Regions from separate parts of the Homo sapiens genome. Here regions 1 and 3 are each linked to region 2. Evidence: promoter capture Hi-C in human tissues and cell types (Jung and others, 2019). All regions are on one chromosome and are shown on one strand. The core of a region is centred on a gene start or on the middle of the fragment in contact, and the rest is flanking DNA. Distances in the headings are between cores, read along the strand shown. Region 1 has its middle 150 kb from the start of LINC02553. Region 2 holds the start of CNTN5 (contactin 5). Region 3 overlaps LINC02713 (long intergenic non-protein coding RNA 2713).

Region 1 (4,210 bases), core at 44-2,543, 1.9 Mb before region 2:
AGTCCATCTTTCCAATGCAGTGTTTATCAACCCCTGGTAAATAGTAAAATCATTTGGAGAGATCTTAGAAAATATTGATGTTTGGCCCTATGAAGTTTGGGAAGTTATATGAAGTTTGGGAATAATGGAGGTTAATGTAAGTGATATTAAATGTTAACATATAAAAATTAGATAAATGGGTGAATGAGAGAATGAATAGCTTCATGTTTCTGTTGGGGACTTTAGAGTAGATGTTGTTTACCATTAATGACAACAAAGAACTCCAAATTAGGAACTGGATTGAGGAAAATTTGAAGAATTAACTGGGAGGTATCTGAGGAGCAATAACAAGTAAGCTATCATTAGATATTGTTTTTTGTGTTTTGCAAAAGATATGTGATCCAAGTAACTGATATAAATTTCTTATGATTATCCCTTTTCATTAGATATAAAAATACTAAATGGGAATATTCACAGACTGTACTAACCAGACAGTGTCCTCTATTCTATCTGCAGACCCTTTAGTCAAATCATGCTAAGAATTTTCTTTAGATACAAGACTCTAAAGCATGCGTGGCAAATATTTAACATGTAGGCTGTACATGTATATGGAGAATTCCAGTGTAATCTTAAATTATATGCATCAATTTGCTAATTACTAACGAGCAAAGATAAGGGCCATTATTCCAGCTTCACATGGTAGTCTTAGCCATGCCACCTCTCCTTTATTGTTAGATTTACAGTTTTCCTAAAAAAAGGTTAAATTTCTTTCCCCTCCAAAAACTGTCCTGGTTTTATCTTTGTCTAGATAGTTCCTTCTCTCGCTTAAGGTTCTATCTCATTATCAGCATAAATTCTATGTTTTGCATTGTTGGAATAAGAAAAAGCCTTGTTGAGAGTCATACCAGGGCACTGTGATTTCTTATTGGCCTAGCTGATGATGTGATACTCTTGTTTTTCACCTATTCTGGGTAGCAATTTGGAATGAAAAAATAATATTACCGTGGTATAAGTCCCAACAGAAGTATTAAATCTGGCTAGCACTACTTGTTATGACAGACTAAAATAAATACACTTACATTTCACCTTGGTTACTTTTCCATAAGAGTAATTTTATAAGTAGAGTTACTCTGCCTTGACAAATACTGAACTGTTGGGTAAAAAATGTATATGCTAACATGAATCATGCATATGAGTGTGCTTAGGTAACAATATATGGTAGAAATAGTGATATTGACTTCATATGGATTTTACATATTGATTATACTGTATCACTGTATATATATTACATTGATTATATATTATCAATGTTATAATAGTTGGAGAAATAATACATACATATCATATATTACATATCATATACGTTATCCATCCCACCAAAAAGTTCTCTTTGAGAGAGATGTAATTTATAATAATATGACAGCAACTTTCTATATATTTTTTCTATACATTCAAAATTATATCTTTGCTGATGAGTAAAAAAGTTGAGCAACATGGACGATGCTTATAGATTAATTGCATATCTTCTTTAGCTCAGTAGTGGGATTATCAGGATTTAATTAAAAATTCACTCAAAATTCTTTGGAGGTGAAAAGCTTTTTGGATGAAAAAAATATAAATTTCAGAAGTTTCACTGAGATCAGTGATACTTCAGAGTATTTTTCTTGAAATTTTAGTAAAAAACATTCTTGTCGAAGAAATACAGTGTTCTGTAGTCAAGAATAACCCACCTGTGAATAGCATTGGTACATAATAAATTTAGTATTTTTATTTTTCTATTGTTGTTTTTAGAGATTCCGTGTTCATATATGAAGCACAGAGCAAAACAGGGGGTGTCTGAAAAAAGCCTCATGCCAGTCCAGAAAGCACCCCATCCAGGAGTATTGATATTGCTAAATTAACCATGAATCATGATCTGGTCCTCAGAATCTTGATTTTACTGGTGTTCTGTGAATGACTGAGAGTGAATGTGTGACTAGGAACATTAACTAAGGAGGACTGAGGAATTTTCACCTTCTTTAACTTATCTTCTTAACCTGGGTACCATAAATGAAATTTAGGGGACCTAATAACCTATCTAAAACAGTGCATATTTCTGAAGAGATGGTCAAATTCTCAAAGGAGTCTGTGAAAAAAGAAATTGGTCAGGTTAGAAATAGACAAGCCAAAGAAAAGTCAATATTTCCAAGCAAGACTCTCCCCTTATCCCCGTAGGAAAATGTTTGCTTTTCTCTCTCTCATTTTTATTCTCCATCTCTGTCAGTCTGTCTCTCACATTTTTTCTCAATCTTTTTTTGAAAGTAAAATTCTTTTTTTTTTTTTCTTTTTTTTTTCTTGGTCCTCTTGTTTTATTTTTTTTTATTATTTTTTTTTATTATACTTTAAGTTTTAGGGTACATGTGCACATTGTGCAGGTTAGTTACATATGTATACATGTGCCATGCTGGTGCGCTGCACCCACTAACTCGTCATCTAGCATTAGGTATATCTCCCAATGCTATCCCTCCCCCCTCCCCCCACCCCACCACAGTCCCCAGAGTGTGATATTCCCCTTCCTGTGTCCATGTGATCTCATTGTTCAATTCCCACCTATGAAAGTAAAATTCTTATCATCTTTTTCCTAACAGCATACAAGTAAATTATCACTAAATTGTCACATTCCAGTTATCCAACAGTGATATTACTTTCAGATTACCTTGATGGTTATATTGAGTATCAATGTTATATATATATATAAATGAATTAAAATATCCAATGTGTATCAATGTATCAACTTTACCATTTTGAATGTAAGGATATCCTTGTTTCTTAGTAGTCTTGATGCATCTCAATGTTAACTATCATTTGAGGTAAAATTTAATTTTTCCACACAGATGATTTTTCTCCATTTTAACATAAAATGAACTATGATATTATAACAGAAAATTTATAGCATTTGTACTAACTACAAAGATTAACGTTTTTATACAAAATTACATTTTGGTTTGCCTCTAGATGGGGATGTCATGATTGATTTCTTTATGTTGAACATAAAATCAGGAGAAATGTAAGGAATTACAAAGTACGTCATCTGTAATCTAATTGGGAACTTTTTATTGAGAATTTATAGATGCTGTTTTGAGAACCAGCCATGTTCATGCATTCTGGTTTCATTTATCTTAGATGGGATAAACCATGTTTGTAATTTGTTAATTTTTGATAATTTTCCATCAGTTTTGGAAGCTATACAACCTATTCTGGCAGCACATTTCTATGGCTGAGAACCAGAAGTCAGGTAGAAAAATATGGACAAAATATTCTTATAAAAATTCATGTGAACTTTGATATTTTATAGTTGCAGAAATGAACTAGCAAAATTTCTGGAATGAATATATCAGAGGTAGTTGCAGTTTTAATATTATATTGATCAACAGCAAACCAAGATGGGAATGGGGAAAATCTTTTACCTTATTCTCCCTGAGAATATTATCAGAACATACTGTTTGTACTTACAACATTTATAGCTGTCATCCCCTGTATTTACGTTTTATCTGCCCTTTCTACTAGATCCTGAACTCCTAGATGGCCATGGCAGTGTTTCTATATCTTCACAGCACTGCACAAAGTGATATTATACAGTTGCTGTTCTTTAAATGTGTGTTGAATGTTGTAAAATTGATCACTATATTCATATGGAACTGTGCTTTTCAATGCTATGAACAATAGGTGACATTAATAAACTACCTTCAGTTAGAATTTCATAGTTTTCTACATTTTGGAGAGAAATATAGAGAAATAGTTAAGAAGCAAGAAACCTAATAAAACACTGCCTCTGACAATCTCATATGACATTGAAAAAATTAGGTAAGCTACCAGAGTTTTCAAATCTCTGAAATGGGGATGTTTTAAAATGGGTCACAGCTCACAGGCTGTGACCTTATCCCACTTCCCCTTTGAGATCTTCACCAGCTCAGCATGCTTCAGATGTCCTCAAAGATTCTCTGCCTTACCATCTCACATAGCTGTTTACTAAGGAGAACTGCAGTCACTTGATGTCACTCTTAATTTTCCTCTGAAGTGGGTCAAGAAGATTGCTCTAATTTTAAGTAAATGTCACTAATTGACAGACATTTCACAAAGATTTACAAAGTAAAGTTTGCATTTTAAAGTTTAAATATTAAATTCCAGTTCAGTCTTCCCAAGGGAAAAGTCCAGGCAGAAGATCTGTATGAGTCTAATAATCACACAGATC
Region 2 (4,313 bases), core at 834-3,333:
TTAGTCCATTTACATCATGTAAAAGGTAAATTTTCTTGTTCATGTTAATGGTAGGAGGGCACCATGAATCATGTGACCGATAGCATTTCCTTCTTTACATTGGCTGCTAACAAAGTTAATGGCAGACCTAGCACCATTTGTAACAAAAACATCAATGCAGTTTTCTCTATAAACCTCATTTCTGGCTTCATCTTATCTCTCCTCCTATCACTTTACCGTTTGTCTTGATCTCACTGACCTACATTTTTTATTCATTTTTTTAAACTGAATAGATTTTTATAAGCCAACTTACATCCTTTCTAGGGCAAAGCTAGTTGAAAGAAATTATGTGACATAATGACTCAAAATGCCCAAATTATCGGATCATGGGTAATATAGAATGGTGTTCTAAGAAGGGAAGAGAACTTTCAGAAAGCTTTCTACACTCCCGATCCCTCTTTCAGGCTGCATGTGCTCAATTATACACTTTTAAAGGCAAAAACCTCATCGAACAATAAAAAGAATGCGTTAGAGCTCCTACACTTTGAATTTATTTTGTGATGTATTTAATGTGGTTATAAAAGTCCTGGTAGTTCTCTCTGTGAACCGACAGCCTGACAGAGGAGAAGAGCCAGTGGGGCAGAGAAAAAGCCACAGAAGGGGAATCTCCACAACGATCCCTCAGTTAACACATAAAGAAGATAACCTAGTTACTGGAAAGCAGGAACACGAATATAAAAAGTATGGAAGAGTGGAGAAGTATTAAATGCACACAAATTTGTCTTTGCTACAGAACAAGCAATCAGCCTAGATCCTGAGGATAGCGATTAAAAGCAGAGACTGGGTGTTTGTACATCATTGGATGAATGAGAAGCAGCCAAGAAACAGGAAAAGACTAATTTTAATTACCAGAAAAACTGCAAGAGAAAGAACACAGGGCTAGTGGTAGACGGCTTCCAGCTACAGGCTGCCTGGCACTGTACTCTCCTTGCCAATTAGAGCCAGTCAGACCCCATCGGGGGATTCAGTGAGCAGAAGAATCAGCGTCAGTCCAGGGTCAGGCTGCTCTCAAACACACATGAAAAACGGACACCAGCGGACACGGGGTGCGACCCTAGACTCCCATGCAGTTTCTTATACAGACACAGAGATAGAAAGCAGTACGTGGGATTTCCTTTCCATTAAATACAGGTGCAAACCACATTCTCTATGGAAATATATTGCAAAGGAAATGTTATATAATTTATTTAACAAATACCCAATTACCATCAGCCCAATCGTGGGAATTGGAAAACGACTCAAAGACTGAGAGGAAAAAAAAAAAAAAAGTAGAGAGGAGGACTGGCAGAACAATGGCACTAAAGCTGCCACACTGTGGATTTACTACCTGTGTTATTTTTCCAATTACAGCCATTGTAATATAAAAATTCCGAAAAAAAGGTTGCTGAGACCATTCCTTCGCTTTTTTTTAGAACTGAGTCAACACCCCAAATCAAAGAGAAATATAAACAGGCAGAGCCTGATAGTCCTTAGATGAAACGCGTAAGTGCAGAAACAAAAGAGAAGTGCTTCCCATTCAGGACTTAAGAAAATTCTGCAAAGTGAAAAAGTCCACTCTCAAACCGACCTAAGTGAACGCGTCAGTCTGTGCTGCTGCTGTCAGAGGTGTGAGCCGGGGACTACAGGAATCAGAGTGAAGACAGGAGCGGAGGAAGGGACTCTCGCCTGGATCTCCCGTGCCGACTCCAGCCAGCACGTTTGCTTTGTAATCTATGAATGTTAAATACGGAGGGGTTGCAGAGCAGAAACGCTCGGGGAAGGGGGGCAGGTCCTCTGTACTTAGCAGGGAAGGAAAATGCCGGTTGACTAGTGAGACGAGTGGAGAAACACAGAGCACCCTCCGGGAGGCGCACAGTTCGTTAAGCCCAGGGACATGCTCAATGAACCTTTGCAGCAAGAGGCAGTGAGGCGCTGGACGCGGGCGCCGGTGACAGCGCGGGCGGCCGGGGAGGGGCGAGGGGCCGCCCCGGGAGGACACAGCCAGTCAGAGGCGCGGGGCGCAGGGCGCGCGGACGCATTGGAGGAAAACACGCGAGCCCCAAACACACCAGCCGCAGGAGGCGCCGCACCTACTTCCCAATATAACCAACTACGGCGTGGGGGAGCGGAACTGCGAGAAGGCGGCAGCCAAAGTGCCATTAAAGCTCGGGGCGGAGAGGATGCGTTACCTGGGTCCCGTCTGCTGCGAGAGGCAGGGCAAGCTGGAGGATTCCCTCTGAATGATTAAGAACTCCGCAATTCGCCTCTGCCACAGGCTGCAAAGGACCCGAGGAACCGCTCTCTCTGAACTGTGCTGATGGGCAGGAGGATGGGAGACAGGAATTGAGAGTCACAGAGGAAGGACAGTGGAGTCTGGCATCTTATTGGTAAGTGGCTGACATTCCTTTGCCAGTGACTGCGTTCTGTGATTGTGCACTTCATCTCCCAGCCACTTAGGATTTTTGACACACTCTGTTCTGCAAAGCCATCCTTTCTTGCCATGTTGCCAGAATGTAAAAACTGTAAGATGAAGCTTTTTTAAATAAAGGAAACAAAACACGACTTTATTTCCTGCTGGGATTTTATGGCAAAAAGTTGAAACAAGAGTAAATATAACCTATTTGTATATCTCCTAATGCCACCCAAAATAAGAGTAAGCAATTCCTACACGCAAATTGCAAATTGTAAGGCAATAAATGCCAGGATAAAGTGAGGATGTTTCTACAAAAGAAACTAAATGTTTGGAAAATAGGATGCCGTTCTCAGGTACTGAATGTATGCCTTATGTTTGAGCAATGAGTTTCCGAGACTAAATAATTGGGCATCTGGCATTGCAATAACTTGTTAAAATTCAGTAGGGATGCTCTATAAGTGGAGTTCTACAAAGTTCGTGAGACTGAGAAAAACTGTATCTTGGATTATGCTGAGCTTTTTTCTAAAGGTTGTATAGGATTGTGATAGATTAAAAAATTATGTTCAGACATCCTTACCATGTTTTGTAGGGAGATATACGGAAGAGAATATCAATTTGCACATACACAAACCTGAGAATTACTCTGATGACCTGAACAATAAGTTGTTTCAACTATATTTATTTGCGAAAGAACCAGAATCCACTAAATATTTTAGAATTATATTACTTTTAAATCTTAGAACTGTTCTCCCAAGAAAAATACAATTTCATGTGGTAATTTAAATGCAGGTGAGAAGCAAAAAACTTTTAAACTGTTGTATGTTCAATGCCTTACCTACATTTCATTCATTTGTTTCTTAATTTAAAAGAGAAAATCATTTAGAGGGTCAATACTTCTACTTTGATTCTCAATTACGACTGTGGAAATAAGGATGAAAGAAGTAGATGTTCATTAGAATACTAGCATTTAAAATTATAGACAAATAGTCAAATTTAAAAATTAATGCAGATATCATCGATTACTGTTGAATTGCAACAGAATTACAGAAGTACTTATGACCATTACAGGGAGCTTAAAGGAGTTCATTATGATTAATATTGTGACTCTCAGTATTTTAAAAAATAATGATTAGGTCATTAACTGTTTTTGAAAATGCCTGTAGTCAATTTTGAGCAATTCTCATGGTTGCTTGCATATTCTCCTATTTCATGCTCAAATTATTCTAAGTTAAGTGGGGACTAGTATGCTGAGTCTTAAACTTAACAGGCATAAGTTTACTCTGACTCTAATCGAAAAGAGGTATGAGTAAGAATATGTCATATAAAACTAATGATAACAAATTAAAGATATTACATAAAAAGATCATCTAAGTCCATTAAAGGGAAAAAGGCAAAAAAAATCAGAGTTAAAGTTATAAAAAGGGAAATTCAATATAAAGAATAGAATTTGACAAATAGCTGGAGTGTGAGGGAATGATATTAAAGCCTATCTGAAAATAGAAAGTCAGTGAAATGATTATTACAAGTGCCAGTGTTTTTGCTTAGGAATTGGTGTATCCTTTAAATTATTTAAAACTTCTGAAAATTGAGAAAGGAGGAGAAAAACTGCTAATTTTAATTTCTTTCTGATTCCATAGACAACTGAACAGAAAGTTAGATTCTTAAAAGTTATATAAAAATATAATCCCATAGATTAACTAAATGCCGGACTTTGTCTATAAGTTGTGAGGCACATGCACACCAAGGTGCTTTTGGAAATACATCCAAAAAGCTACAGTTGTGGAATTTTTAAATGAATAGCTGAAATACCTGAATGTTTCTCAAGGTGAGCAGTTAGTACTTCAAGTATTAGGTGGTCTGAAACAATTCTTAGTCAGGGAGC
Region 3 (3,995 bases), core at 697-3,196, 1.1 Mb before region 2:
TCTCTATGTCACATTTTGAAATTCTCAAAATATTTTGAACTTTTCCCTTATTATATCTGTTATGATGATCTATGACCAGTGATCTCTGATATTACAATTGTTCTGGGGTGCCACAAATCATGCCCATAAAAGATGGCAAACTTAATCAATAAATGTGTGTGTACTGACTGCTCCACTGACTGGCCATTCCTCTATCTTACTCCCTTTTCTTGAGACACAACTATCCCCTGAGACACAGCAATACTGAAATTAGGCCAATTAATAACCCTACAATGGCATTTAAGTGTTCAAATGAAAATAAGTGTTGCATGTCTCTCACTTTAAATCAAAAGCTACAAATGATTAAGCTTAGTGAGGAAGCCCTTTGAAATCTGCAATAGACCAAAATCAAGGCCTCTTGAGCCAACTGGTTAGTCAAGTCGTGAAAGGAAAAGAAAATTTTGTGAAGAAAACTAAAAGTGCTATGCCACTGATCACATCGATGATAAAAAATAAATAAATAAAATAAAACAGCCTTATTCTGATAGAAAGTTTAAGTGGTCTGGATAGAAGATCAAAACTGCCACAGTATTGCCTTAAGCCAAAGCCTAATCCAGAGCAAGGCTCAAACTTTTATGAATTCTGTGAAAGCTGAGAGAGTTAAGGAGGCTGCAGAAACAACGTTTGATGCTAGCAGAGGTTGGTACACAAGGTTTAAGGAAAGAAGCCATCTCCATAACATAAAAGCACAAGTTGAAGTAACAAATGCTGAAGTGGAAGTTGCAGCAAGTTATCCAGATGATCTAGTTAAGATCATTGATCAAAGTGACTACATCAAACAATGGATTTTCAATGTGATGAAATAGCCTTATGTTGGAAAAAGATACCATTTAGGACTTTCATAGCTAGAGAGGAGGAGCCAATGCCTGGCTTGAAAGCTTCAAAGGAGCTTTCTTAGGAGCACTCTCTTAAATGCTAATGCAGGTGACTAAGTTGAAGCCAGTGCTTCTTTACCGAGATGAAAATCCTAGGGCCCTTAAGAATTATGCTAAGTCTACTCTGCCTGTGCTCTAGCAATGGAACAACAAAGCCTGGATGACAGAACATCTGTTTGCAGCATAGTTTATTGAATACCTTAAGTCCAATATTAAGACCTACTTCTCAGTAAAATAGATTTATTTTAAAGTATTACTGTTAACTGAGAATGCACCTAGTAATCCAAGAGCTCTGAAGGAGTTGTATAAGGAGATTGGAATTGTTTTCATGCCTACTAACACAACATCCATTCTGCAGCCAATGCATAAAGGAGTAATTTAGACTTTCAATTTTTATGATTTAAGAAATACATTTTATAAGGCCCTAGATACCATAGATAGTGATCCCTGTGGTGAATCTGGGAAAAGTAAATGGAGAATCTTTTGGAAATAATTCACAATCTTAGATGTCATCAAGAACATTCATGATGCATGAAAGGAAGTCAAAATATCAACATTACCAGGGATTTGGAAGAAGCTGATTCCAACACTCATAAATGACTTGGAGGAGTTCAAGACTTCAGTAAAGGAACTAATTACAGATGTTATGGAAATGGCAAGAGAAGTACAATTAGAAGTGGACCCTGAAGATGTGAATGAATTGCTTCAATCCTATGATGAGACTTGAACAGATGAGAAGTTGCTTCCTTCAGAAAAACAAAGAAAGTAGTTTCTTGAGACAGAACCAACTCCTGGTGAAGATGCTGTGAACATCATTGAAATGACAAAGGATTTAGAATATTCATATGCTCATTTGATAAAACAGCAGTAGAGTTTGAAAAAACTGCCTCCAGTTTTTAAAGAAGTTCTACAGTGAATAAAATGCTATCAAATAGCATCAGAGAACATATTACAGAGAAATCTTTCGTTAAAGGAAAAGTCAATCGATGCTGCAAACTTCACTGTTGTCTTATTTTTAGAAATTGCCACAACCACCAAACCTTCGGCAACCACCATGCTGATCAGTTAGTAATCATCAACATCAAGGCAAGATCCTCCACCAGAAAAGAGTCAGACTCATTGAAGTCTCAGATGGTTGTTAACCTATTTTAGCAATAAAGTATTTTTGAGTTAACATATACACATTGTTTTCTTAGACATAATGCTATTACACACTCAACAGCCTTGGGTACAGGGCAAACACAACCTTAATGTGCACTGGAAAACAGAAAAGTCCACATAACTTGCTTTAGTATGATATTTATTTTATTGCAGTGGGTCTGGAACTGAGCCCAAAATATCTTCAAGCTATGCCTGTATATGACAAATAAAAGCAGCTCATGTTATTTAGGTTTAAATATAACTCTATTTGTAACTTCCATAAATATAAATGAACAAAATACTGTAATTAATAGAAACAGATTATCAGATTAAATAATCTAAAGCCAACCACAGTGGGTTGAATTGTTTCCCTCCAGAATTTAAGTCTACCAGGTGCCCTAGAATGTGACCTTCTTTTGACATAGAATCTTTGTAAATGTAACTGAGGTAGAAATTAAGATGAAATCATGGTGAATCAGAGTGGACCTTAAATCCAGTGACAGTGTCCTTATAAGAGGCAGAAAAGAACATACGTGGACACAGAAAAGAAAACCATGTGAAGACAGAAACAGAATGGGAATTATGCTGCCATAAGTCAAGGAATGCTTGGGGTTACCAGAAGCAGGAAGAGGCAAAAATGGATTCTTCCTTAGAGCCTTAGTGGAATGATGGCCTTGCTGATATCTTGATTGCAGAGCTGTAGCCTTCAGGACTGTGAGAGTACTAATTTGTGTTGTTCTAAGCCTCCAAGTTGTGGCAATTCATAACAGTAGACCTAGAAGACAAATAAAGGTTTAGTCCTGGGAAGTGGGCTGCAAATATAAAAAAAATACTAAGAAATGTGGAAGTGGCTTTGGAAATGGGAAATGGCTAGAGATTGGAAGAATTTTGAGTCATGTAACAGAAAAAGTATATATTGCCTTGGAGAGACTGTTGGTGAAAATATAGAGGTTATAAGTACTTATGGCAAGGTCTAGGACAGAGAAAAGAAACATGATATTTGGAACTGGAGGAAATGTAATCCTTGTCATAAATTGGCAGAAAACTTGACTTAATTGTTTCTATTAATGGGTGAGGAAAAGAACTTTTAAGAATTCACCTAGGATATTTTGAAGAAGAGATTTCTAAGCAGAGTTTTGAAGGTGTGGCCTGGATTCTTTTTATTACTTATAGTAAAATGCAAGAAGACAAAGATACATCGATGAAGGAACTGTTAAGCAAAAAGGAAGCAACACTCAATGATTTGGAAAATTCTCAGCCTATCAAGACTGCAAAAGATGCTAGAGCATGCTCTGGAGAAAGGGTAGAGTGTGGCTGGACAAACTTCTGGTAAAGACATGAGATGTATAACTCATGCATCCAATCAATCATTTCCACAGAAGCCATAAATAGAGACAAGCTATAAAGAAAGGATCTGTGGAGAACCCTTTGTTTAACAATGTGGGTCCCCCTGACAGACACAGAGACCCTCAAGATTTTTCAGAATGTTATACCACCAAAAACACTGGCAGCTTGGACTGAAGAGGACAGAAATGGGATGAAATGAAAAGGCTGTCATTATTTGGGGATTCTACAAGCAAAACGTGTCCTGCTAGAGCAACTCTGGCAGAAAACAAGTGCTAACCTTCAGAAAAATGAAGAATAATTCTGAGGGAAGAATTGTCACAAAGGTCATTACAAAGTTAATTCCAGAGAGTGGAGCCAGAGAACAGACCATCAAGCCTAAAAGGATTAAGCCTAAGCCTTGAATTTACAGATCTACTCTGCGAAGATTTGGAGTTGCTTGGAACTAGTGATCCTTTACTCCTACAAATTTCTACCTGTTAATATAAAAATATCTATCTAATGCCTGTACCACTATTTCATTTTAAAAGCAGATAAATTTGTTTGTTTTCCCTGTTCACAGATGAAGAAGTATTTTGACCTAGGGTGGACCATACA

The links. Contacts are between HindIII fragments. The study calls those that stand out against the background at their distance.
Region 1: a fragment that was not itself captured here is called in contact with the fragment with the promoter of CNTN5 in region 2 in 1 of the 25 tissues and cell types used here (dorsolateral prefrontal cortex).
Region 3: a contact is called between a fragment that was not itself captured here and the fragment with the promoter of CNTN5 in region 2, in 1 of the 25 tissues and cell types used here (mesendoderm cells).

The regions. Positions count from the first base shown.
Region 1 is chr11:97,103,914-97,108,123 of GRCh38, forward strand. No RefSeq gene overlaps it. Among named protein-coding and RNA genes, the nearest start is that of LINC02553, 150 kb to the right of the region's middle. The HindIII fragment of the contact is 8,793 bases long and covers 1-4,210 here.
Region 2 is chr11:99,018,866-99,023,178 of GRCh38, forward strand. CNTN5 (contactin 5) reads left to right here and starts at 2,084. Exons shown (of 25, transcript NM_014361.4): 1 at 2,084-2,405. The HindIII fragment of the contact is 4,883 bases long and covers 190-4,313 here.
Region 3 is chr11:97,939,936-97,943,930 of GRCh38, forward strand. It overlaps LINC02713 (long intergenic non-protein coding RNA 2713), which reads right to left. Exons shown (of 6, transcript NR_183633.1): 2 at 2,671-2,829. Among named protein-coding and RNA genes, the nearest start is that of LINC02713, 15 kb to the right of the region's middle. The HindIII fragment of the contact is 5,758 bases long and covers 1-3,995 here.